7 separate regions of the Homo sapiens genome follow, and regions 2, 3, 4, 5, 6 and 7 are each linked to region 1. Evidence: promoter capture Hi-C in 16 types of primary human blood cells and fetal thymus (Javierre and others, 2016). All regions are on one chromosome and are shown on one strand. The core of a region is centred on a gene start or on the middle of the fragment in contact, and the rest is flanking DNA. Distances in the headings are between cores, read along the strand shown.

Region 1 (3,694 bases), core at 381-2,880:
AGCTGCAGCTGCCCCTGCCTTTTGTGGACACTCTTTTTGTGCTTTTAAACCAAACTCTAGTAACAATGTTGGTCAAGAAGCAAGTGCCTAGTATCCATAATTTCAAAATTATTATAATAAAATATATCAGGAGATAGGCCAATGGGGCATTTGTGACAAATGGATTTCAGGTTGATTCGAGGAATTTGTATTTGGAGGATAAAATAGTTGATCAAAGGTACACATTTTTACAATTTTGGGCAGTATTAATATACAGTAGGGAACCTACAGTGAGAGAGGGAGAGAGATGTGGACAGGTGGTGCCAGAGAAGGAAGACTGCAGGGGAGCCGGGTATGGTGGGGGAGCCGGATGGGAGTTAAGAATTTTGTTGCAGGGATGACTTTTAGCTGCTAGGGCAGAAATCATGAGTCGTCCATCCTCCCTTATCTCCAAGTTAGGGATCATTCCCACCAGCAACGACCTCCACTTCACTTAAAAGAGAACAACTGATGGACATTTCTAAAAACTTAAAGTTTGGAATCATGCCATAAGGACGTCATTCCTGGCCCTGCCCCACTGGAGAATCATTAGGGTAAAAACTGCATTGTTAACCCGGGGTGAATGGACATGAGCTGCTCTTCTTTAGTGCTCCTCAGTCTGTCTCTAGGACAGGTTAATCCCCTTCCCATCCTGCCCCTTCAGAAAGGAGTAAAGTCCTAAACATCAAAAGGAAAAGAAATTTCTAGGTTGAAGCCACAGAATAGGCCACTCCCGAAAGTTAGGGCAGAATCACAAGCTCCATTTTGTCCATTTCTCATCTAAGGTTAAAAGAGTCTGTCTGTCATCGTCCGGTTTGATAGGAGGCTCCGGTCCCGCCTGGTTGGGGGAGCGACCACACGAAGCGCGGGTGGCGGGCAGGGTCCAGCCCCACCGGGACCCTGGGCCTCCTCTTCAAGGGTCTCCGCGAAATGCTCGGAAGTTGTGTGCTTCATTTAAAAGGGGGAGGCCGGTTCCGTGGCAAGCGGCTGGTTGACAATTCCCTCCTTCAACCTGATGTCTAGAGAGGGCGGTGGCTTGGAAAGCTACGACTCCACCCGCGGCTCCACAGCGCCAGGTGACAACATGGGAGCGCTCGCTGGGCCGCAGCCGCGACATAGCTGGGCAGCAAAAACGAAACAGCCGGCGCCATGGGAGTGTCCCGGTGGGTGTGGCATCCAGGCTAGAAAAGCCTTCTGACCACCACTGCCCGCGAGACGACCCCGGCTGGGGGTATTCCCCTAGCAGCGGCCTCCTCCTCACGCGCGTTCCGGGTACCCCTGTCTTGGGGTTCCGGGGCTCACGCTAGAACCTCACCGGGGCCCCAGGTCTGGGCGCGCGTGGCGGAGAGCGCATGCGCATTGCTCGCACGTACCCGGAACACTCCCCGCCCCGCCCCTCCCCTCCCGTCGGGTGAAGGCTTGGGTACCCCCGTGGCCGGTACCTGAGGCGCCAGCGTCCGTGAGGCCAGCGCCCGAGTCAGGGCGCTTCTGAGGACGAGCATGGCGCGGCTTCGGCGCTGAGAAAAGCAGCCAGCCGTGTCCTTTCTGAGACTCCTCTGAAGGTTTCCCGAGTGGAAAGGAGCGGCTCCTGGATCATTGGCAGACGCAGGCTGGGGCGGGGCTCGGCGGGGTCAGCTCCACCCCGGCGCGGGAGGCGCGGCGGGTCCCGTAGCTTGGTGTCTTTCTCTGCTGTGCTGAGCGTTGGTTCCCCCTTGGTTTCCTGAAACGTTCTTACCCCAAACGTTAGAGGTGACGTTAGGATTAACTGAAGGCTCGGATCGTTCCTGCTTCAACTTTCTGGGCCCTCACTCACCTCATTCGCTCCAGTGCTCAGTTGTGTAGATTGGTAAATGTGCAGGGGTTGTGGGTGTGTTGACCATGGGGAAAGAAGGAGAGGTGTTGAGTGCGTGCATGTGCAGTGCTTTGTATTTAAAATCGTGGAGGTTTTTTCCGAGTTAAGTTTTAGATGTTGTGATAGACGTGTATTTGAGCCTGACCTCTCTGCAATGAATGTGTTCTCCATCTTAGAAGGCTCCTAATTAAGATTTAGATTAAATTTTCCACGAGCTCAGAGAAATGGCAGCATCGAGCCTGAAATGAAAAAGTCAAAGTTAAACATACCCTGGTCTAGTCCTCCCAGTCCGGGAGTGTTGGTTCCCAGAGTAACCACCTTCAACATTTCAAGCTGTTTCATTTAATGCTTGTTTCTGTATTTTTAAGTAAGTAGTGTTTTCTGCTGTTTATTGCATTTTCAGTTATGGATAGTATGTGTTGACTTCCTTCTGTGGCAGATGAGGATTTATGTCTCATAGATGCCACTGCCCCCAAATTCACTTGTCTTCCTGCATCTAATAATGCTTATGTTAATTTACAGTAATTAATTACACTATTAATTTACAGTAATCTATATTAATGTTTACATTATTCTTGCTAATAATTACATTATTGTAAACATTAATGTAATATTGCTTACATCATGAGGACTAGGGAGGGATTGCAGGGCCATGACCTGGGTTGTATTGGTTGTGCCTTGTGGAAGAGCTTTGGAATTGTCTGTTCAAAGGAAGGGAGACTTTTTAAAATTAGTTATTTCGGAAGGGTTGCCTCAGTTTTTCTAGAAGAGAGACATCTATTTGTAACCATGCAAGACTAAAAAAATCATTTGTATCAGGACTGGATCTATATGAGTAAATTATTTTCTTAGACCTTTTTTTTTAAACCCTGTAATTGCCAATCCATTTACTTATTCAACAGATATTTACTAAATTCCTTCCATGTTCCAGGCACTTTTCCAGAAACTGGGGTACAGAATTGAGCAAAATTCAAAGTCCCGTCCTCTTGGAACATCCAGGATGGAGGAAACAGATAAAAAAAGGAAGAGTAAATATATCAGGGATTGTCAAATAATATAAAGAAAAATAAAGTAAGATACGAATAAAGGTGCTAGTGGAATTCTAAAAGTGGTCAGGATTCTAGCTATTGACTTGGATATTTAGGATTTAGGTTTCTTCATACCACTCCCTCAAAATACACTTTCCTTCCTGCGTTTATTGATGTTTACATTAAAAATATATTTTGGAGTGAGAAAAACATGTTAAAAGCACTGTAAGCACAGGTGAATCTCTTCAAATAGTGGGCTTCACTGTGAGGTGATCTGACCTGGGTATTTCACTGAAGGCTGTATCCCCTCCCCCCAAACTGTTATCTGCAAGTTATTTATCTGTGTAGTCAGTGTTAGGGAAGGGAAACTTCCAGTATCTTATCTGTGTGAGAAAAGCCTTGCTGCCAGTTTCCTGAGGCTGAGGAGGGAAGAAGGCCAGAACACTCAGCATTTGGTAGTATCTTTCAATAATATATTAATTAGGGTAGATTAAATAGCTCTTGTAAATCAACACTCAAAAAAGTGTATTATTACTCAAACACTATAGGAGTTTATTTTTTATAAGAATACAAAGTGGGTTTTTCTAGTTGGCAGGTAGCTCTTCTATACTTAGTGAATTAGGGAGCCAGGCTTCTACCCGGTGGCTTTGCCATTCCCTAGTCTCATCATTAACTGCATCCATCCAGCAGAAAGATACAGGGAACTTCCAAGAGGAATTTCCAAGAGGAAAATACAGATAGGGGCAAAATTCATGGCTACAATTGAGAGATGGCTAAACATTGTTAAGTGCTTCTA
Region 2 (3,694 bases), core at 546-3,045, 4.2 Mb after region 1:
GGGCCTTCTCCTTCAGCTCATCTCCCCCATCATTTACAAATACCCTCCTGTTTTCTGTGCTCTGTCCCTACCTACCTCTCCTGTCCCCATCTCATGAGCGTTATCAAAGGTTATCACATTTGTCTCTTCTCCTCCCACCCCATCTCCCCAACTCACTGGAATCTGGCTGCTTCTACCCACTCCACTCAAACTGCTCTCAGCAAGGTCCTCAGCGACCTTGTCATGCACCCCAATGAACACTTTTCCATGCTGCTCTCTCTGCAGCTCCTGACACATCTATCTGAAACTGCTGCAAATCCCTCTGTCATCCACAATGCTCACACTCCCGGTTTTCCAAACTCTCTGATCACTATATTTGCCAGAAGTGTGTCTTCCTTCCCCTGCCCATTTCTGTTGGCTCCCACACACATGCTTCCTGGTTAGTTGTTTTTTTTTCACACTCCACACTTTTATGGGGTGAAGATCTCCTTAATGCCATTGTTTTTGCCTTGCTGATGACTCCCAAATCTGTACCTCTAGTCTAGATCTTTCCTCTGAGCTTCAAACTCCTGGCTATCCCACAGGCACCTCAGACTTAGCACCCCCAAAACATATCTTTTCCAGCAAACCTGCTTCAACTTCTGTACACTTTCTTCTTTGTCCCTCTTCTCACTGGATAACATCATGTGCTGTCTCAAGCCAGAAATCCAGGAGCCACCTTAGACTCCTCCCTCTCCATCATGCCCAGCTGTGGGCTGGCTTCCCTAGGAAACAGACTCAGAGATATTGTAGGTGGCTTATTGAGTGATGCTCTCATGAACAGCACCTGTGAGGGCTGAAGGATGAAGGACAGAGACAAGGAGTTGAACACTTAGTGAGGTTTAAACCGGGGCCTCAGCCAATGCTATGGCAAGCTCTGGACCCAGGAAGGTCCTTCAGAGCTGTTCCACGCTGAAGCCAGAAGCCACACACATATCCCTCAGTCAACCCGTCACTCAATGTGGGCTGCTCTCAGGAGGGGGCATGACCTTGGGTGAGGTGGCTTTCTCTGCTGAGGGCAATTCCTGGAGACAGACTTGGGCGAGAGCCATCAGCCGTCAAAACTCCCAGCATCTGGAGGGATGAGTGCCAAGTCTTAGAGGGAATGTGATTGTCACCATAGAACCCACTACATCCCTCATACTCGGTCACCAAGTGTTTTATCTATTTCTACATTTTAACTTTCAAATAAAATCCCTCCCTTTTCAGACTACTCTATCTGAGGCACCATGGCAGGGACAGAGCAATGGGCTGAGCAGACACGGTGCCAGTGCTCAAGAGGTTTACAATCTAGCTGAGTGAATAACCACCTAAATATATATTTTTAAACTACAATAAGTGTTCTTATTGTGTAACAGGGGAGGCTTTCCCTGTCAGGGAGTGACGTAGAGGCAGGGAAAGCTTTCCTGAAGAAGTATCATTTTCAATGGAATCTGAAAGATGAATAGAAGTTAACTAGGTGTATTCTTAGTTGGTTGGGAGGGGAGTGGGAAGAGTGTGGACAGGCAAATGGAATTGCCTATGCAAAGGTCCTAAGACAGGTGGGATAAGGCATTGGAGGACCTGAGAGGCCAGTCTCTGGAATGCAGAAACTGAGGAGGAAGAATAAGAGATGAGGATGAAGTTAGGCACGCAGGAGCCAGATCTTGCAGAGCTCATATTTGAGCCTTTTTTTCCTAAAAGTTATGAAAGCCACTGGATGATTGTGATCTCTGTGTAGTAAAAATGCTATGTCTTAGTTAAGCAGAATATGCAACTGCCCACAATCAAAGTCGATAAAATGGATCATATACATCTACAAAATGGTTTCAAGTTAAATTCTGTTAATGTTAAATGCTAGGGGCAAAAAAAAAAATGCAATGCAGATACCACTATTACAATAGCCTCCTTCTCTATCTCTAGAGGCTACTTGTAGTCCCTCTAAACAATAACACCTATTTTTGACTGCTTACTAAATGCTAAGTTTGCTAAGTGCTTTCCATAAAATATCTGGCTTAATATAACACCTTTAGGTGGGTACTATTTAGAAACTGGGTTCAGATAATATAATTTGCCCAAGTTCTCACAGTCAGTAAATGGCAGACACAAGCCAATTTTCCAGTTATAAAGCTAAAGCTCTTGATTGTACATTGAAATACCCCACCTAAGCTTTTGGAAACACTCAACTTCACAACTTTCAGTATCTCCATGCTGCCTTCAACTTCATTCCACCATGCCCTTCGCAGTAGACTCCCTTTGTAAATCAATGCCAACCTGATGCAAGCACAGGTTTGGAATACACACACCCTTAACACCATACAACAAACCACAGCTACCTTTTGAGGGCCACCACTAGAACCAGGACACTTTCTCCTGGCTCATCCCACCTGATACTTTTTCTCCTCCTTACCAACCCATGATTTTGATGCTCTAATCTCTGGCAGCTGAACCCAGTTCTAATTAATACATGCTAATATATGCTAGATAAATGTAAATTTACCTGAATAAGAGCCAAAGAAAAACAGAGGCAAATCCACTATAGTATTCTACTAATCATCCAGTTTGTCATTTTCTATGTTAAACCTCCCCCTCTATTCTTAATCAACAGTGGATAGGTTCCAAACTGCCTGTGCATAAACAATTATGAAAATATCCACTAGATGTCAGCCTTGAGCTGCAGTGAGGCTTGGGGAGCGGACATGGAATGGAAAACTCTTGGGAGTTTGGGTGATTTCCTTTGCAGTGTAAACTAAGGCAGGAACTGTAGTTAGCTTTTTGTATGAACACAATGGCTGGATTTTTTCAATGAGTATAAATACAATAAATTGGATCATGTCGTTCTTATTAACACGTTCCCATGGGTCCCCTTCTTATTCAGAGTAAAACCCAAAGTCCTTAGAACAGCCTGTGACACCCCACTGCTCCCACATTTCCCACCTCACCCATTTCAACCACACTGTCTCCTGAACACAACTGAAACTCTTCCTAGAAACACCTGAATGATTGACTATCAGATTCAAACATTCTGGTCACCTTACCAGAGGCCTTCCCAGACACCCTTTCTAAAATAGTGGCAGCCTGCACCACCCCCACTCATAATGCCCTGCCCCCTTACCTGACTTCTTCTTCACAGCACTTATCACCACCTAACATAACTATATTTGCTAGTTACTAGTCTTTCTCTGGAATCTCTGAAAGCAAGGGCTCTGTTCACTACTTTACTCCCAGAAGAGTGCCAGGCTTACATGAGGTGCTCAAAAAAATACTCATCAAATAAATGATCCTAATTCAAAGATATTCAGAGAAGAGGCCATAGTTCAAAGAGGCATTCATTTGTTTTCATTCAGTAGATACTTATTAAATACCTATTATCTTATTAATGAGAAACACAGTAAGTCCTTTGCACTTACAGAATCTCAGAGAGAATGCACACACAATTTTAAAAGGCTTTACAAAGAGAGAGATATTTGGGCCAGGTGTGGTGGTTCATGACTGTAATCTCAGCACTTTGGGAGGCCAAGGAGGGAGGATTGCTTGAGCTCAGGAATGTGAGACCAGCCTGGGCAACATAGTGGACCTCATCTCTATTAAAAATAAAGAAAAAAAAAATAGCCAGGCATGGTGGGCATGTGCCTGTGGTCCCAGCGGTCCCAGCTACTTGGGAGGCTGAGGTGGGAGGATCACTTGAGCTTAGGAG
Region 3 (3,694 bases), core at 879-3,378, 4.0 Mb after region 1:
AAATAAAATGAAAAGTGAAAATAATATAAATACTACACAAAAAAATACCATTGTGTTTCTTAAAAGTTGTACCTAAAGGGAAATATTTTCAAAATTATTGGACATCTTGCTATTTAAAACAACTCTATAATTTGTCCTTTCCCTCTATAGAGTAAAAAGATAATTTACTGTTCCTTCATTCTTATGGTTTTATTTTTCTTTTAAATTTATATTTTTTCCTTGTATTGCAAATATGCGTATTTCTTCAATCTAGACTTTCAAGGCAAGAAAGTGACATTAAAGTGTTTGCCTGAAACACAGACTCATCTGCTTTGCAAGGAGAGTTTTCCCTTTCTGTGACCACAGCATGAACACAGACACACCTGGCCATTCAGGAGTACTGGGCAGGGGAGTTGTCTGTATCTCATAAACTATTGGTAACCACAACATAACAAACTGTATCTCATACCACTATTGGTAACCACAACATAACAACAAGACAGAGGGATGATAAGTGTCCGGGAAGGAGGGAGGTCTCCCATCTATTATGAGATGCTTTAATGTGGAGGAAAGGGAGAGTCACCTTGATAAATAATAGATATCCCTAAATCTCAGCCCCTCCACTCCAAGCCTGTGCCATCTACTGACCAATCAAGATACATAATACCCTGCACACCACACTCCCTTTTCTCCTTATTTCTGCTATCTACTTCCCACCCCTGCTGATGGCATGATGTATGTAAGACTCTCCTCTGTCTACAACAGTGAATCCTTTAGCAAAGAAGCCAACATAGCTATTTGTATAGTTGTCTCTTGAGGTAAATAGAAACTGGGAATTGAGAGCAGCTTCTTTCAGAAAAGCCAAGAGCAGATCCACGTAGTCTCCACACCTTCGTTTGGACCGTGACCCCTGAAGCAGACCAATGAGCCCAGGGTGTCCACGTGTGAGAGCAAAGCCTTTCCTCTCTCCCAAAGGGGATGCTTTAGGTACCCAGCCAGTACAGGAGCGATCCACCAAGCCAGAGAAAATGTTCAGCCTCCGTCTCGGTCACATAGGAGGATAACACTGACATTTCAGTGTATACTTTTGTCTGGTTGAACAAACCTCTTTCTTCTAGAAAATAAGGCTAGGTAAGATGTTTGTATTTATTTATTTATTTATTTTTGAGACGGATGTAGCTCTGTCGCCCAGGCTGGAGTGCAGTGGCGTGATCTCAGCTCACTGCAAGCTCCGTCTCCCGGGTTCACACCATTCTCCTGCCTCCGCCTCCCGAGTAGCTGGGACTACAGGCGCCCACCACCACGCCCGGAGAATTGTTTTTGTATTTTTAGTAGAGACGGGGTTTCACCGTGTTAGCCAGGATGGTCTCAATCTCCTGACCTCGTGATCCGCCCGCCTCGGCCTCCCAAAGTGCTGGGATTATAGGCGTGAGCCACCGCGCCCGGCAAGATGTTTTTATTTTTAATAATCCTTAAGGGATAAAATCCATCCAGGCAGCCTAGAGAGGGTAATCCATAAATCAGACATCAGAGATAAGATTTCATTGCACAGTAACTGTGAGTGGGGAGAGAAGCTTGGCAAGGATTCACTTGCCCCCTACATGGTCTCAGACTAGAATATCACTGGAGCTGAGACCGGCTTCCAGGCAGACCTAATGAAGGTTGCCTTCTGCCTCTGTAGACAAGAAGTCCAACAGGAAGTAATATACATGTTTCTATAGCACCTTCCTGATCTGCAGTTTTTAAAATAAAGCGAGGGCTCTTTTTTACTAATTGTATACCATTGTATAAATGTTGGTCTTTATTATTATGTGGAATAAATGCAATAAAATTGAGAAGGAAAATGTGCCAAAGGTTTATTGCATGCTATGAAGAAGATTGAACCTGGATTCAGAAGGCCTGGGCTCTCCCGTTGCTGTATACAACCAAGTCCTCAGCTGACTCACATGGGCTCTCAGTTTCTCTGTAAACCAGGGTGATTGGAGGGGTGGCAAATTGGTAGCTCCTGGGCTGAACGTTCAGTGCTTCTCAAAAAGTTGAATTTAATCACCTTTAAATGGGACACCTGCTCTCCAGATGGCCAGGGTCCTGTCACCTTTTTGTCTCATATCCGGTTTTCCTTCACACATTTACGATACCAGCCTAGCCCTGAAAGCGTCTGAGCTTGAACTTAGAGAATCTCGAGGAACTTTCCCAGTCTTTAAAAAAAAAAAAATCCACGATGTTTTGACACAGGATATCAACCACTAATGCTCCCTCTTTCCCTCACTACTTGGATGTCTCAGCTTGAGCTGCATTTTGAAAATGAAGAAAGAGATAAAGACAGCCTAGCAGGAGGAAGGAAAGGCATTTGTTAAGATATGACACTGGGCAGCGCCACCCCACATTCCAGAACTGCAAGCAGTTGGGCCTGACTAGAGAGAAGGGTGTAGGAAGTGAGGTAAGGGGAATAGAAAAACTGAGGCAAATACTGAAAGGAATTGTGATTTAACTGGAAGTCCTGAACTTTGTCCTGAAAGCTGGAGAGAGATGGGAGAGCAGAGAGGGCATTGAGGGCTTTTAATCTGCTAAATTTCTGTTTTAAGACCATCATTTTGAAGGCTGCTTGGAGGATAGGCAAATATCTTCCCCACTAGCAAAAAGTACTTTCCCCAGCTGTAAAATGATGGGCATAGATCAAAGGTTCACAGTACCGTTGCATATAAGAATTGCATGAGAAGCTTGTAACAGTGCTGATAACCTAGCCTCACACCAAGAGATATTTATTTAATTGGGTGGGGAGTGTGGGGGGCGGAAGGGGTGGGTAAGGGTACTTATTAAAGTGTGAGACCCTTAAGGACACTTCCTGCTCTGAAATTCTATCAACTATGTCAAGGGAGGTCCCCATCATTCAAATTGAAGAATGACGAGGAGCCATTTCCTTTGCATCTTCAAACCCCAAAATCTGAAGCGAGGTTTAGAAAGATGTCCCAATAGTTTACATCACTTTTCTTTAAATTAGCTGTTTTTCTTGGTCATATCCAATTACTCCCTGAAAAAAAAAGAATTATTTCATAGTATGATTTCAGACTTCTATTTTAGAATTTTACACTGTCAAATCATTTTGGTGTGAAAAAGTACCAGCACCTCCCAAATAAATGGAAAACAATTATAAAATAAGCAAAACCTATTTGCAACCAATAAAGGATTGTTTAAAATCAGTAAATGAGCATATATATCAATCCTTAGTCTGTGTAACATTTTCCAGAATGAGTCATTCCAGGCTTGTGGGCGAATAGGCTCCCTGCTCATTTTCTGCTTCTATCTTCTCCTAGTCAGAACCTGAGAGTGTTTACTTGCTTGCTTTTTTTTTTTTAAGTTAATATTTATTGGGTAATTCGCATAGGCCAGGCATTGGGCCAAGGGCTTTACAAACAAGTATCTATCACCACTGTATTAATAAGGAAACTGAAGGGAGGACAAATAACTCAAGGACACAGAGCTAGTAAGAAGCAATGCTGGAATTTGAATCTGCAATCATGTGCCCTAAGTCCATGGGCTTCATTCACCATGACCCCACACTGTTTCACCCCTCCTCCACAGCTCTCTAATTTTACCTTGTCTCCTACCCTGACCTGCGGAGCCAGATTCCACTCTGAGTTCACTGAAGGTATATGCAGAGGTAGATTAAGGGTACACACACCCCTGAGACCATTTGGTCCCCGCTGTTGGGTGT
Region 4 (3,694 bases), core at 820-3,319, 3.4 Mb after region 1:
ACCCCAATATCATCCCACAAAGACCCTACAAAATTGCTTGGAACAGTCAGAATGGCTCTTCCTCTCTAACTGGGGATGGCGGCTTTAGAACTGATGGTCAGCAACATTGTTTGTCTTTTCTTGAGCCAAAGTCTATTTATACACCATTGATCTCCCTTTGAAACCCTTCTCTTCCCTTCAAGTCACCTGTTTTCTTTCCTTCTTAAAAAAATTCCTCAGGAATGGTAGTAGGCGATAGGGGGAAGAGGAGTTGGTTAATCAGTACAAAAATACAGTCAGATGGAAAAAATGAGGCCTGCTCACTATAACAGTAGAGTGACAATAATTAACAATAATTTACTGTATATTTCAAAATAAATGGAATAGATTTGGAATGTTCTTAACACAAAGTAACAGTATTTGAGGTGATGGATATCCCAGTTACCCAGATTTGATCATTATACATTGTATGCTTGTATCAAAATATCACACATACCCCCGAAACATGTGTAACTTCTATGTATCCATAAAATGTTTTTAAAAGGCGTTCCTCAGGAAAGTTCCTAATGAGATATCAAGATTTTATGATGACTTCAGCACTGCTTTTCCTGCAACTTCATCCAGAGTATTTGCATTTTAGTTTTTCATCTTTCACTATAGGAAGAATGCCTGGATCCATTCAAAATACTGGCACATTTTTGTTTTATTTCTCTTCACTTTATTGCATGTTGCAGATATTTTTTTTTTTTTTAAATTGAAGCTTTTTGACAACACTGTCCAGCAAGTCTATTGGCACCATTTTTTCAACAGCACATGCTCACTTTGTGTCTGCGTCAACACTTTTTTAAAGCCATAAAGTGCTTTTAAATTAAGGTAACTGCATTGGTTTTTTTTTTTTTAGACATAATGCTATTGCACACTTAATAGACTACAGAATAATGTAAACATAACTTTTTATATGCACTGGGAAACCAAAAAATTGTGTGCCTAGCTTTACTGTGATATTCACTGTTGCAATGGTCTGGAACCAAAGCTGCATTATCTCTGAGATATGCCTGTCATTTTGAATTAGAAAGAAGCTTCCCAATCAATGTTCTGAATGTGAGCATTGTCTGTATCTTAGATTTTTTACAAGTTGGAAAACCAAGTTAGAGGCTGGGAGAGGCATGTGTGTATTTTGCATATTGGGGAGGGAAGGAAGAGGGGCTAGGAAAAGGAAGTGTGTTAAGTCCTATGACTGAAATCCAGCTATGTGTGATGCCAATCCAAATGGATCTTGGACCAGAGAGGGCAGAATAGGAGGAGGGAGGTCCTACAAGACTGTGATGGCTTCTTTCTCCTTGGGGAGGCTTCCTGAACATTGTTAGGGGATTCATTTCATGCACAGTATAAGTCTCCAGGCCTGATGATTCATCATAAATTTTTCTGGGCCTGTTTTAAGTCCTTGAAGATAATAGAAATCTGCATCTCTGAGGTGTGACCATGCAATGGAATACTACACAGCAATAAAAAGGAATTATGGATACATTCTACAACATAGATGAATCTCAAAATAATTATGCTAGGTGAAAGATACCTGAAAAAATACATTATGATTCAATTAATATGAAATCGTAGAAAAGGCAAACTAATATAGAATGACAGAAGATCACCAGTTGCCTGGGGATAAGGGAAAAGGAAGGGTGAGAAAGTTGTATGCCAAAATTGATCAAATTGTATACTTGATGTGTCATTTATTGTATACCTATTATACTTCAATACAACCGTGAAAGAGAAGGCAAAAAGAATAAAAATTAACCTCTTTTTATCAACTCCAACTCAATTTAAGGGATTTCCTAGGTGAGCAGGTGGCCAGACCTCCATCTATTTGGGGAACTAAAACATAATCAGAAATACAAGAAAAATGTATTAACCAAAACTCTTCTCCAGGAAGATAGGTGGTTGAGAAGCCAGTTTAGCGGAAGTAAGATTCCCAAGAGGCATGTTCCAATAGTAACAGAGGCCCACTAAAAAGGGCGGGTGTGATCATCTGCAGGGTTTTTAAAATTTCCGAGTAGGAGATGCAACTTTGGAATTAGAGTTGAGTTTCTTGGGATGCTGGAGAAGAGGCTGCTTGCTTCTACCAGTGCTCTTCATTCTCTATTCTTCCCTCAAGGAACACTTAGCTTTTGCCCCCAATATGCTGAGAACAAATACTTAGAGAAGATTGGTTTGAAGGTGTGCCAATTTATCATTAGTCTGCTTGGCCCCAGTCCCAAGCCCAGTGTTGAAAGGGGTAGAGCCAGCTGTACTTCTAGGGGCAATTCTCTCCCTGCCACCCAGAAGGAATTTGGCAATCCAGTTTCTGAAAGGAAAGAGTGTTTTGAAATCATTTTTGTAGCAAAAGCATGTATAATACTTGGAGAATAATTGTAATTCACAAGGTTGGGACGAAAGGAACACAGATGGTGAAGTCTGGGAAACCTGACTCACAGTTTTTCAGAGAGTAGAAGAGGGGGAAAAGGTAAAAAGAGGGAAGTCAACCTACCAGAAACAGGGCCACTGCAGTGCCCAGGATGAAACCAGCAATCACGTCCGAGCAGTGGTTCCGATACTCAGAGACCCGGTTGAGGCCTGTCAGGAAGGCTGTGCAGAGAGTTCCGAGGCACAGCACCGGCTTGGCCAGTCGACTGCTCTTCGTCTTGATTGTGCTTGTAATATACATCTGGAATAGGACAGAGGCCAGGGAGTGACCAGGCAGCTGCCTTGTGCTATGAGTACACATGCAAGCAAGCAGGTACATACACCAGCATACACAAGCAGGGGCTTGTGTCAAAGCAACCACACTAACTAGTATTCCTTGAACAACTCCATTAAGATATTTAATAAATTATTTAGGTAGGAAATCAGTGCAGCAAGAACAATGAACAGATGTACATTCTTCAGTCTTTTGTAATCTAGTGGACATGTCAACAGAAGTTATTAGTGACACAAAGAACGCATTAACGATTAGATTCAGAACATGCAGTTTTTATGTGACAAGTTTAAATATCATTTGGGGTATAAGAAATCCATATGAGAGTCTGAGATACCAAATAAACCTTCTATGGGAATGAAGCTTTTGGTGGAGAAGACCAGGTAGGAGAGTGACTGTAAGTGACCGTACATTTTATTTTTTGTGTCCCCAAAAGTTCCTAGTTGCTTTGTCACACCTTCAGGTGATTAATACCAACAAAGTGTTGACTGATGAGTTAGTTGATAGGCTGAATTAGAACCTCCCAACAACTGCATCACATAAATAGGTTTCAGCTGTGCTAGTAAATTGACTCATACATTCCTCAGGACAGCTGTGATCAGCTTTATTCATTCATTTACTCCACTGTTTCTTAAAATATTAAAATTTTCTGTGTGTTCCACAAGATACAAAAGGTCAAGAAGACCTGAGCTAAGTAAAAGATGATACACGTTATGACACCTGAGATGTAGGCGGCTGTTATTAGTTTGTTGTGAGGTGCTGGGTAAGACTCTGACGTTTTACAGGTTCAGTTAGCAAATGTGTCCCTGGTGGTTTAGAGTTAGGAAGCCATGCCTTTTTCATGTAAGTACACTTTTTTAGCTAACCTTTGGTAGTAGTTACAAAACACCACTAGAGGGCACCATTGGTCTATCATTTCTTAACAAATGTGCTATGTGAGCTTAGCAATTCTAAAAAATAATATGCTGATACTTATATAGT
Region 5 (3,694 bases), core at 1,195-3,694, 3.4 Mb after region 1:
GTGACCTAGCACTTAAGTTAGCTCTGTTATACTTCCAAAGGCATATTTGAGGTTTTGGCCTTCTGGGCAAGTTTTGGTAGGGTGTCTGTCATTTTCCCTCTACTGCTGGAAAAGAAGGCTCAAGAGGAAGAATCCAGGTACTTTGTATTTTAATCAGGACTATTTATTTGGGCCGATTGGAAATAAGTTAAAATCTCTGCTCTTGAATTAAATCAGAGTTTATTTACCTCAGTGTTTGGAATTTTAGCAGTTCATGAGGACAAATAGTCTTTTTGTTCATTTCATAATCTCAGCTGTAGAGTTGCCCAGAGTGCTCAGATAAGTGTGTCTTTTCATTTTGATTTGCTTAGAAAGGATGTCAGTAGGGACTTGCTATTATGATGATATTGAGCTGAAATTTATATTTCTGAGGAAAATGAAAGGCTATCAGAAGTCATTTGTTAAAATTTCTTTATTCTGTCTTCCCCATCCCCATCAATATTTCTCCCTCTTTTAAAAGACTATTGCCTAGAATTTTATAGAATAAGCCCTCCTATTCTGGGAAACTGTACTGTGGTCCTATTTATATTTTGTTTGAAGGGTAATTTTCTTTTAATGTAAGACTAATGCCATGTTAGAATTAGATTCTGTGAAAATATTTCTTGAAGCTTTGAATATATGTTATACCTATTTATGCAATTCAGGAATGCTTTCTGGTAGTGAAATGTAATGTTAAAAAATACCAAAAAAAGCAAGTATAAGTTTGAGCTAAAGTTAATGACTTTCTAATTGACTTATTTCTGTTTGGGCACGCTGGTTGATGCATGTGATATTTGTATAGAAATAAATTGAATGGATAATATTGTTAGGGGTGGTGAATATCTGAGTTACTGGTGGCAAATCTGTATGGGTCTGCAGCAATCTCATTTCTTGCCTCCTCGAAAGAAAGAATTCAACTGAGGGGCATAAGGCAGTAAAAGAGACCAAGGCAAGTTTCAGAGCAGGAGCAGAAGTTTATTAAAAAGCTTTAGAACAGGAAAGAAAGGAAAACACACTTGGGAGAGACCCAAGCAGGCATCTTGGAGGTCAAGTGCCTCGTTCATCCTTGAACCTAGGATTTTATATGCTGGCCTACTTCTGGCATCTTGCACCCCTTTCCCTTCATCCTTCCCTTAAGGGTTATGGGGAGCCACCCACATGCATGGTGCCCTGCTTGTGCTTGGGATGTGGGCATGCACAGTGTGTTTACTGGAGTTTTATGCATGCTTATCTGAGGCTTTCTTTCAAATTCTGGTGGAATGCCCCTGGAAGGTCATACTCTGCCATTTTGACTCTTAATGTGCATGTTTGAGCTCATTCGCCCAGTTCCTGAAAGCTGCCAATTATCAATTTCAGGTGTTTTTATCAGTTGAGAAACTGCCTCTCCCTGGTGCTGGCTGTGACCAATTGTTATTTTAGAGAAGCAGAGTGACCATCACCTGATAGTCACCTGACATTCTGGTGGGTGGGGGCAACCCTCTCCTGCCCCACTCATGCATGACTAGCTACCTACTGTAACAATATGTAGAAGAAATACTATACCTTAAGCTTATTTAGAGTAGGAACTGCATCTTATCTGTCAGTGACTATGACATGTAGACTCTTGATAAATTCTTTTTGAAGTACTAATCAATTTGACTAAGAGTTGGAAATGTAGATTCCATTTCTGACTCTCATGTATTTCTGTATGATCTTAAGTACTCAATTTCTTGATTACAAGAAAACAAATGAAATACGGTACTTGGAAGCTATAGTATCACTTATTTTTAAGCTTCTCAGGAAACATATTCAATGTTTACTCACCACTGAATTATCATTCTCAGGACTTCTCTCTCTGTAGGCTCATTCTTGTCAGCATGTATTTATGTCTGTGTCTGTCTCATCTCTCATCTATATATACACATATATGCAACACAAACACTGTTGCATATATTTTCTTTTACTTTCAATCTGTCTTTTTTTGACAATGTGTTTCTGAAAAATAACCACTTGCTTTTTCAATTAGTTTGACAATCTGTCTTCTTTTTTATTTTTATGTATGTATTTATTTTAGAGATAGGATTTCAGCTCTTTCACCCAAGGTGGAGTCAGCTCTTTCACCCAGTGGCATGATCACAGCTCACTGCATCCTTGACCTCTTGGGCTCAAGCAATTCTTCTGCCTCAGCCTCTCAAGCAGCTGGGACTACAAGTTTGCCCCACCACACCCAGCTAATTTTTACTTTTTTTTTGTAGAGATGGGATCTCACTATGTTGCCCAGGCTGGTCTCAACCTCCTGGGATCAACCGGTCCTCATACCTCAGCCTCCCAAAGTGCTAGGATTACAGGCATGAGTCACCACGCCTGGCCTGTGTCTTCTAATTGGAGTGTTTGATCTGTTTGTATTTAACGTAATTATTGATATGTGTGGGTTTAAACTCCCATTTCCATTCATCCCATTTATTATTTGCTCCTTTATTCCTCCTTTCCTCTTGTGGCAGATTGCATTTCCCAAAAATGTATACACAAATACACATACAAATACACACACACAGCCAGGTGCGGTGGCTCATGCCTGTAATCCCAGCACTTTGGGAGGCTGAGGCAGGCGGATCATTTGAGGTCAGGAGTTTGAGACCAGCCTGACCAACATGCTGAAACCCCATCTCTACTAAAAAAACACAAAAAAATTGGCCAGGCATGGTGGTGGGTGCCTGTAATCCCAGCTACTCGGGAGGCTGAGGCAGGAGAATCACTTGAACTGGGAAGTGGAGATTGCAGTGAGCCAAGATTGCACCACTGCACTCCAGCCTGGGCGACAGAGCAAGACTCCATCTTAAAAAATAAAAAGCAAATACACATACACGTTTCATCCACTTAAAAAAATTTTACAATGTGATTGACATATCTCCTACTGTTAATAGGTATCAACATTTTCTCCACTTGAATTTTGATGGGAGCTTGTGGCTGCTATTAAATGGCAGAGATTATGCTATGTGATTTCCAGTGCTAGGATATAAAAAGGATACAGCTTCTACCTAGCTTTTTCTCTCTTGTGTTGCTTGCCCTTCCAACCCAGCCACCATGCTGTGAGTAAGCTTGCTCTGTGGTAAGTGAGCAGGTCTGTGCAAACCTACCCCCAAAGGCCAAGGGAGCTGAGACACTGAACAAAGAGAGTGACAAAACAGTTTCTCAGAGAGAAACATTTAATAGGGGCTTACAAACAGAAGCTGTGTCTCAGGCAGCTGTGAGACAAAGGATCCCCTCACTGTTACTCCCCAGACCCAGGGTTGATATACCATAGGGAAAGGATATACATGCTTCAGCAGGAATATGTAGGAATTTGCCTAAGGGTAGGATTTATGGTAGGTGCTCTTATACAAGAGATAGTAGATAAGGCAGAAATCTTAAAGGCATTCCTAGAAGTGGGATTAATCAGATGTCAACTGGCAGATTAGAATTCAAGATGGAGTTGCTATAACCTCCACACTCCAGCTTTCTAATTGGGCTTTTAGAATCTCACACACTGTCCTCTTCTTCAATGGTCTTTGAGTTTAGAGGAAGGGTGCTTGATATTGTACAGCTTTAGCAGCAGTGCACTGGCAATGGGAAACAGATCAGGCCCAGTGGGATTTCAGATGAGAAAAAATGCATAGGCTTTCTTGAATCATCTCTAGTCTTTGGAGTACCATGATTT
Region 6 (3,694 bases), core at 1-2,500, 3.4 Mb after region 1:
AGGCCCGTGGATCTCATCGAAGATGGCGGCGCGATCTGTGTCGGGCATTACCAGAAGAGTCTTCATGTGGACAGTCTCAGGGACACCATGTAGAGAATTTTGGTCTCGATTCAGGTAAAGCTTTATGGTGGACGGTGGGTCATGTTCAAGGAAAGTTAAGGAGGATTAGGGACGAATTCAAAATAGAGTGTTACGCCATCGTGGTCCCGCGCCTGATCAGAGCAAGGACAAGGAGGTCCGGTTAGGGTCCCGAGTTGAGAAGCACTCATTGAGTGGTGGGACCCAGTCTCTTCCACTCTCGGCCTTAGTTTTCTCATTTTATAACGGAAATACCACCCCCTTTCCTTTTCACTTCACTCATTCATTTATTTATTAAGCAAGCAGGATTAACCTCGTGTGCGAGACACCGAGTGTGTTGTCTGCAAACACATGAAAGCGCTTGGTAAACTAAACTCATTTGCCGGCTGTGTTTCTTCACAAGCAAGGTTCAGTAATGAAGTACTGCCTCCTCCTTTTGTTTGTTCATTCATTCAGTCATTCAACAGATTTCTTAGGGCCAGCATTACTCTAAGCGCCTAGGATACAGCAGGAAAAACAAAATCCATTCTCATCCTCGAGGTACTCCAACATATGAGGAAACAGGCCCACAGGAGGGAAGTGATTTTCCCAAAGTCACAAAGCAAGTTAATTGCAAAGCTGGATCTAGAACATATGTCTCCTAACTCCCCATCTACTGCTTTTTCTGCTGCACGGCTGCACCATGTGTAATTGTTTGAAGGTAAATCTAATTTGACTTAGATAGTGTTTAGGAAATCAAAACGTATGGTAGGAACCCTAGGGAGCAATGTATGCTCTCTTAGGTTTAAAACAAAAACCACTACAATTAGGAAAGATCTTTTTCATCAGTTCAGATATTAGCTTTCCCTCTTCTTTGGTCAATATTTGTTATTATCTCTCAAATCTCTTCCAAGTTTGTTTTATTCATTCACTCAACAAATATTTTTTAGGCTGTTTACTATATGCCAGGCTATATCTTAGGTGTTGTAAGAATACAGTGGTTACTAAAACAGACCAAATTTTTGTTCTCGTAGGGCATATGTTCTAATGGAGGAAGAAATGAACAAATGTGTAATGTAATTTCAGAAAGTGGTAAATTATGAAGAAAACTAGAGGAAATAGATTACTGAGAATGATGATTATATTTTCTTTACTATTTTAAAAATTTTATATATTTAAGATATACAACTTGATGTTGATTATTAGTCAAGATAATTATCATATTCATCTCTTCACATACTTTCTGTTTTGTTTTGTTTTAGAGAAAGGAGTTCTCACTATGTTGCACAGGCTGGTCTTGAACTCCTGGACTCAAGTAATTTTCCCACCTTGGCCTCCCAAATTGCTGGGATTCCAGGGGTGAGCCACCACACCTGGCCAGTTAGAATTTTTGTGTGTGTGGTGAAAACACTTAAGATTTACTCTCAGAAGATTTCAAGTATACAGTACAGTATTATTAATGATCGTCACCATGGTGTACATTAGATCTCTGGAACTTATTCATTCTACATAATTTAAATTTTACCTTTGTCCAACGTCTCTTCATTTCCGCCACCCCTGGTAGCCACCATCCTACTCTCTGTTTCTATGAATTTGACTTTTTTTTTGTTTGTGTTGGAGATGGAGTCTCACTCTGTCTCCAGGCTGGAGTGCAGTGGCGCTATCTTGGCTCACTGCAACCTCCGCCTCCCAGGTTCAAGCGATTCTCCTGCCTCAGCCTCCCGAGTAGCTGGGACTACAGGTGCCCGCCACCACGCCCGGCTAATTTTTTTATTTTTAGTAGAGACAGGGTTTCTCCATGTTGGCCAGAATGGTCTCGATCTCTTGACCTCATGATCCACCTACCTCAGCCTCCCAAAGTGCTGGGATTACAGGCGTGAGCCACTAAACCCGGCCTAATTTGACTTTTTAGATACTACATATAAGTGAGATCATGTGGTATTACTCTGTCTGGCTTATTTCTCTTAGCATAATATTTTCCAGGTTCATCCATGTGTTACAAATATCCTTTTTTAAGGCTGAATAAAATGCCATTTTTTGTGTGTGTATATATGCAAGCACATAATATATACATATATTCATACATAGGTACACATATACATATAGACACACTTATGGCATTTTATTCAGCCTTAAATATTGTGTATGTGTGTGTATACATGTATACATTTACATGTATACACACATGCTGCAATGAAGATGAGAGTGCAGATGTCTCTTTGAGATACTGCTTTCATTTCCTTTGGATATATACCGAGTAGTAAGATTGCTAGATCTTAGGATAGTTAGGATAGTTCTGTTTATAACTTTTGAGGAAGCTTAATACTGTTTTTTATAATGGCTATGCCAATATTCATTCCCACCAGCAGCATATAAGGGTGCCGTTTTTTCCATGTCCTCACCACACTTGTCTTTTTGGTAATGACCATCCTAATGGGTATGAGGTGATGTTTATTTGTAATTTTTTTTTAATGTTTATGGATGCATAATAGTTGTAGATATTTATGGGGTACATGTGATATTTTGATGCAAGCATACAATGTGTAATAGCCAAATCTGAATAGTTGACGTATCCATCACGTTATTTATCTCTTTGTTTTGGGAACATTCTAAATCTTCACTTCTAGCTATTTTGAAATACAAATAAATTACTACTAACTATAGTCACCCAATTGTGAAATCAAACACTAGAACTTACTCTTTTTAGCTGTAGTCCTCTTCTCTAACTGTATTACTCCTTTTAACTGTATTTCTAACCAATCTGTCTTCATACCTTACCTCCTCACTACCCTTCCCAGCCTCTGGTAACCATCAATTTATTACTACCTCCATGAGGTCTTTTTTTTTTTTTTGGTTCACACATAGGAGCGAGAACATGCGATATCTGTCTTTCTGCACCTGGCTTATTTCACTAAAGAGTGTCCTCCAGTTTCATCCATGTTACTGCAAATGACAGGATTTCATCCTTTTTTAATGGCTGAATAATATTCCATTGAGTATATGTACGGTTTTTTTAATATCCATTCATCCATTGGTAGAAACTTAGTTTGATTCCATATCTTGGCTATTGTGAATAGTGCTGTAATAAACATGGAGTACAGATATCTCTGTTAGACTGATTAACTTTCTTTTGGATGTATACCCAGCAGTGGGATTGCCAGATCATATGGTAATTTTATTTTTAATTTCTTTGGGAAATTTCCATGCTTTTCTCCATAGCAGTTGTACTAATTTACATTCCCACCAACAGTGTACTGGTATTCCCCTTTACATCCTTGCCAGCATTTGTTATTTTTTGTCTTTTAAATAATAGTCATTTTAACTCAGGTGAGATAATACCTCATTGTGTTATTGAGTTGCATTTCCCTGATGATTAGAGATCATTTTTTTTATATACCTGTTGGTCATTGTATATCTTCTTTGAGAAATATGTATTCAGATCTTTTGCTATTTTTAAATCAGGTTTTTTTTGTTGTTGTTACTGAGTTGTTTGGGTTCCTTGTATATTCTGGTTATTAATCCCTTGTTGGATAGTTTGCCAATTTTTCTCCTATTCTCTAGGTTGCCTGTTCACTTTGTTTATTGTTGCCTTTGCTATGCAGAAGCTTTTTAGTTTGATATAATCCCATTTGTTGAT
Region 7 (3,694 bases), core at 885-3,384, 3.3 Mb after region 1:
CAGCTCTGCTTTAGATCACTGTCTTGGAATGAGACAAACTCTCCAGCTACCTGTACTGTGACTCTAGACAAGTTACTTGCCCTCTCTGAACCAGAGTTTTGTTATGCATAAAATGGGGGTAATAAGCGTTTCTTCAGAGAGTCGCTGATATTGGAGATAATTTATGAAAAGAACCAGGTACATCATAGACTCTCAAAAAAAGGATAGCTATTATTGTTGTATAACAAGAATAATTAGTACTAGTAGCATCTCTCAGCAGGTAGAATGTTTTAGCTATGGTTCTGACTACCCCAGCCCTGACTCCTAACAACTTTCATTACACCCACTCTCTATTCTTTCATCACCATCCACCTCTTGTTCCTCCATTCTCCTTTACCAAAAATCATAGAGGATGAAACCTCACATAGCCCCAAAGCTGGTCACATTGGTCTGACAAATATGGTAGCAGGTGCTTCAATGAGCCCAGTTGAAGATGGGGAAACCAGGAAATGTGCCATCAGATACTAAGTGGAGTCAAGGGAGCTGATAGGACCTTTCCCTGGTCTATCCCTCTACTATCCTCAGGACAGGGCTTGGTGGGAACTTCCCTAGCCAAATGAGCCTCAATATTGTGTTTCAAATACTTCAATTTCCTTCAATATTCACATTCAGTGATGAATACTTACTGTTCTCAGAAGCCTTTGTTTTCAGGAAAAACTTGATGGTGGCTGAAAACATGATGGCTCTGCTTGGAGGGAAATGCTTGTTTTCCTCTCTCTAAGTATAAATGCTCATTCACACCTTTCCTGGCTTTTTGAGAGGTGGCAAAATGCCCAAGATTGATTGCCAGTTACTTGTGTTACCTGAATGAGGCCCTTGTGAGTCTCTGATCTAGGAAAAACAACCAAAACTAAACCAAAACTCTTTTTAGATCACCTAGTTCCGTTTATTTTTTCCTTCATTTTGTTGACATTTCACCTTTTCATCCATAAATTCTGGTGTTACACTCTGCACAATCAAGCATCTTAGTTTTGTTTTCCATTTTATGAATTATTCCAGAGGAACATGTTCATGAGAATTTACCCTTTTTTGTAATTACGGTCATTCCATCACTTTTAGATTTCCCTCATTTATTTGCCTCATTCATCATTTGCCTCTGGAAGCATATAATATTTTTATTTACCTTTTCTGGAATTAAATTTGGGTTTCATACTTAGGAAAAAGCCCTGCAGAATGAACCCATACCCAGACAGTACCATATTTAGGGGTGTTGATGGCTTAGTTCAATCACTTTAATTCTAGTTTTTAACCAAATTTGAAGACAAAAGTACAAAGGTTAAAAGAGAATGGGAATACAAAACAATGATTTCTGGCATTAAATACATCAGAAAGCCCAGCTAGGTTTTGGAGGACTGGAGAAGATGGGAGAGACAATGATTTTTAAAAACAGAATGTTTTGAATTTTATTTCCAATTTGGACAAAATTCACACATGGGAAATTCAAGGATTCAGAATCAATTTCTTTTATTGAAAGATTATTTAAATTTAACTATAAATTATAGAATAAATTGTTGGAATTGACTACTAATGATATACTGAAGATAAATAATGAAAATATAGCATTGATTACCTAATTTGGAAATAATAATTCTTGAATGCCTACTGCGTACAGACACTATACAACTCACTTAATGCTCCTGTGAAATTGAGATCCCACTTTACAGAGAAGAAAATAACGGCTCAGACAAGTAAAAAACAAAACCAAAAACCCGTCACCAAGTTCATGTGTTTTGTAAGTGTTACAGCTACACTAACATTCTTCCTAGTATCATTTAATGGACCCTAGAGCTCCATCATTGACTAGCTGTATGACTTAAGGGAACCTCCTTATCTTCCTTGCCTTAGTTTCCTCATCTGTGAAATGGAGGGTCTGGATTAGGAACTCCACGGTCTAAAGACATTCCTTGCAGCTTTAACATTCTATGAGCATAAGGAGTATATGGGCATGATTTTAAGGACTGGTTGTTTATGAGCCAATCAGAGGTGTTGAATAAACACCTCCCTACTAGGTCAAGGTAGAAAGGGGAGGGCAAATATTGGAAAAAAAAAACATGATGAGAAGTCTATAAAAATTGTGTGCTACCAAAGATCTGTCTTATTTGGCAGCTGCTGCCTCACCCACAGCTTTTGATATCTAGGAGGACTCTTCTCTCCCAAACTGTAAGTAAAAAAGCTTCCTTTGTATACCTGGACAGCACCAGTGAATAAGGGGTTAATAATACTACTAAGCTTATAGAAGGGAAGATTGGTTTGCCTTTGTTTTCGGGAAAAACTTGATGGTGGCTGAAAACATGATGGCTCTGCTTGGAGGGAAATGCTTGTTTTCCTCTCTCTAAGTATAAATGCTCATTCACACCTTTCCTGACTTTTTGAGAGGTGGCAAAATGCCCAAGATTGATTGCCAGTTACTTGTGTTACCTGAATGAGGCCCTTGTGAGTCTCTGATCTAGGAAAAACAACTTGAACACTCCTATCGTTAGGTTCTAATCAGTTTTTGAGATTCCTGTTCATTTCAACTCTCAACTCTCTTTTCATAACAACTACTTATTTTAGTGATTTATTTACATATCTACTGCCTTATGTCATTTTCTACATTCTCTTCCCACACCTACTGGTACCGACACTGAAGTTTCTTTGTCACAGAAACAAACCCTTGGAGTATTTTGCCCTTCGCCTTCACCCACTGCTCAAATGAGGAAATGCAACAGGGTTGGAAACTTCACAGAGCATAGTCATCATTTGATTATGAATTTCCAAACCCTTCATGTTTGACACTTTCTAGAACATTTCCTGCTGGCCCCAGACACTGTGAAGACCCTACAGCTTAAGATAGTAGGAATCAAAAGGTTGTGTATTTTGATACATTTGCTCTACTATCTGAAAAATAGGCATTGTGAGAATATGTTGCCTTTTTAAAAAATAACTTCTCTTTAAATAGTTACCTAGGGCTCCATTAGACAATTTGGATGCACCAGAGCTTGAACTCTGCTACCCTGCTATTCATCACTTTAGCTAAGGCACATCTGGGTAGCACCCAGGCCCAGGTTAGAGCCAGAGATACTGGGGCAGGGAATGGGGAAATGTTGAATATCTAAGAGGTCCTTTGGCTTCATTCCAAGTTTAGAGGAAAGAGCACCATTCAGGACTCGTTCTGGGCTGCTCCGCGTGTGTTAAAGGGCACTGGAAATCAGGCTGTCCTAGGACTGCCCTAGATCATCCCACTGCACTTGTCACTGGGACATTGGGGTGGATAATGAAGCTATTGGCAGCTTTAAGCATCATGTACAAAAGTGCTGCATGCAGTGCCTAGAAATCATGGGCTATCAATAAATAAGCCTCCTCATATTTGCCTTAAAAATCCATTTGTCTTGTACATAGAGAAGCAAATGAACTTTCTGCTGCCTTCTATTTCTCCAGGAATTAAATATCCATGTTACAAATAATTATGTTTTCACAGAACATCTTCAAGGAAGGCAGAAAGAACCATACCATAGGATTCTACCTGCTATTTTGCTGAAGGATTAGAAATAGAATTCTAAGTCATAAGCCAATAGGATGTAACTTGCAATCCTAGAACATCACAACTTAGAAGGCACATCAGACATAGTCTCTCTGGCTTTAGTTTCCTCATCTCTAAAGTGACAGGGTTGACGCA

Evidence for each region. Contacts are between HindIII fragments. The CHiCAGO score rates a contact against its expected background, and 5 or more counts as called.
Region 2: a fragment that was not itself captured here is called in contact with the fragment with the promoter of NIPSNAP3A in region 1 in 3 of 17 cell types (total CD8 T cells, non-activated CD4 T cells and naive CD4 T cells); the score reaches 6.7 in total CD8 T cells.
Region 3: a fragment that was not itself captured here is called in contact with the fragment with the promoter of NIPSNAP3A in region 1 in 1 of 17 cell types (neutrophils); the score reaches 5.1 in neutrophils.
Region 4: a contact is called between a fragment that was not itself captured here and the fragment with the promoter of NIPSNAP3A in region 1, in 1 of 17 cell types (total CD4 T cells). The highest score is 7.5, in total CD4 T cells.
Region 5: a contact is called between a fragment that was not itself captured here and the fragment with the promoter of NIPSNAP3A in region 1, in 5 of 17 cell types (total CD4 T cells, non-activated CD4 T cells, naive CD8 T cells and 2 more). The highest score is 11.0, in total CD4 T cells.
Region 6: a contact is called between a fragment that was not itself captured here and the fragment with the promoter of NIPSNAP3A in region 1, in 16 of 17 cell types (total CD4 T cells, non-activated CD4 T cells, total CD8 T cells and 13 more). The highest score is 37.0, in total CD4 T cells.
Region 7: a contact is called between the fragment with the promoter of ALDOB here and the fragment with the promoter of NIPSNAP3A in region 1, in 4 of 17 cell types (naive CD8 T cells, naive B cells, naive CD4 T cells and 1 more). The highest score is 11.7, in naive CD8 T cells.

The regions. Positions count from the first base shown.
Region 1 is chr9:104,745,619-104,749,312 of GRCh38, reverse strand. It overlaps NIPSNAP3A (nipsnap homolog 3A), which reads right to left and starts at 1,630. Exons shown (of 6, transcript NM_015469.3): 1 at 1,461-1,630. The coding sequence starts at 1,520. LOC107987105 (a long non-coding RNA gene) reads left to right here and starts at 1,674. Exons shown (of 5, transcript XR_007061705.1): 1 at 1,674-1,864. RefSeq lists an enhancer at 1,067-1,226 and a silencer at 1,647-1,736. The HindIII fragment of the contact is 7,745 bases long and covers 1-3,694 here.
Region 2 is chr9:100,594,760-100,598,453 of GRCh38, reverse strand. No RefSeq gene overlaps it. Among named protein-coding and RNA genes, the nearest start is that of CAVIN4, 19 kb to the right of the region's middle. The HindIII fragment of the contact is 747 bases long and covers 1,422-2,168 here.
Region 3 is chr9:100,700,793-100,704,486 of GRCh38, reverse strand. No RefSeq gene overlaps it. Among named protein-coding and RNA genes, the nearest start is that of CAVIN4, 120 kb to the right of the region's middle. The HindIII fragment of the contact is 1,146 bases long and covers 1,556-2,701 here.
Region 4 is chr9:101,311,787-101,315,480 of GRCh38, reverse strand. PLPPR1 (phospholipid phosphatase related 1) reads right to left here. Exons shown (of 8, transcript NM_207299.2): 6 at 2,507-2,683. Among named protein-coding and RNA genes, the nearest start is that of BAAT, 71 kb to the left of the region's middle. The HindIII fragment of the contact is 2,018 bases long and covers 1,061-3,078 here.
Region 5 is chr9:101,379,913-101,383,606 of GRCh38, reverse strand. All of the region lies in intron 1 of BAAT (bile acid-CoA:amino acid N-acyltransferase), which reads left to right. Among named protein-coding and RNA genes, the nearest start is that of BAAT, 3.2 kb to the left of the region's middle. The HindIII fragment of the contact is 1,306 bases long and covers 1,792-3,097 here.
Region 6 is chr9:101,394,921-101,398,614 of GRCh38, reverse strand. MRPL50 (mitochondrial ribosomal protein L50) reads left to right here. Exons shown (of 2, transcript NM_019051.3): 1 at 1-114. The coding sequence starts at 23. Among named protein-coding and RNA genes, the nearest start is that of MRPL50, 1.8 kb to the left of the region's middle. RefSeq lists enhancers at 1-293, 1-354, 355-884. The HindIII fragment of the contact is 2,255 bases long and covers 123-2,377 here.
Region 7 is chr9:101,434,214-101,437,907 of GRCh38, reverse strand. ALDOB (aldolase, fructose-bisphosphate B) reads left to right here and starts at 2,134. Exons shown (of 9, transcript NM_000035.4): 1 at 2,134-2,199. The HindIII fragment of the contact is 11,270 bases long and covers 1-2,214 here.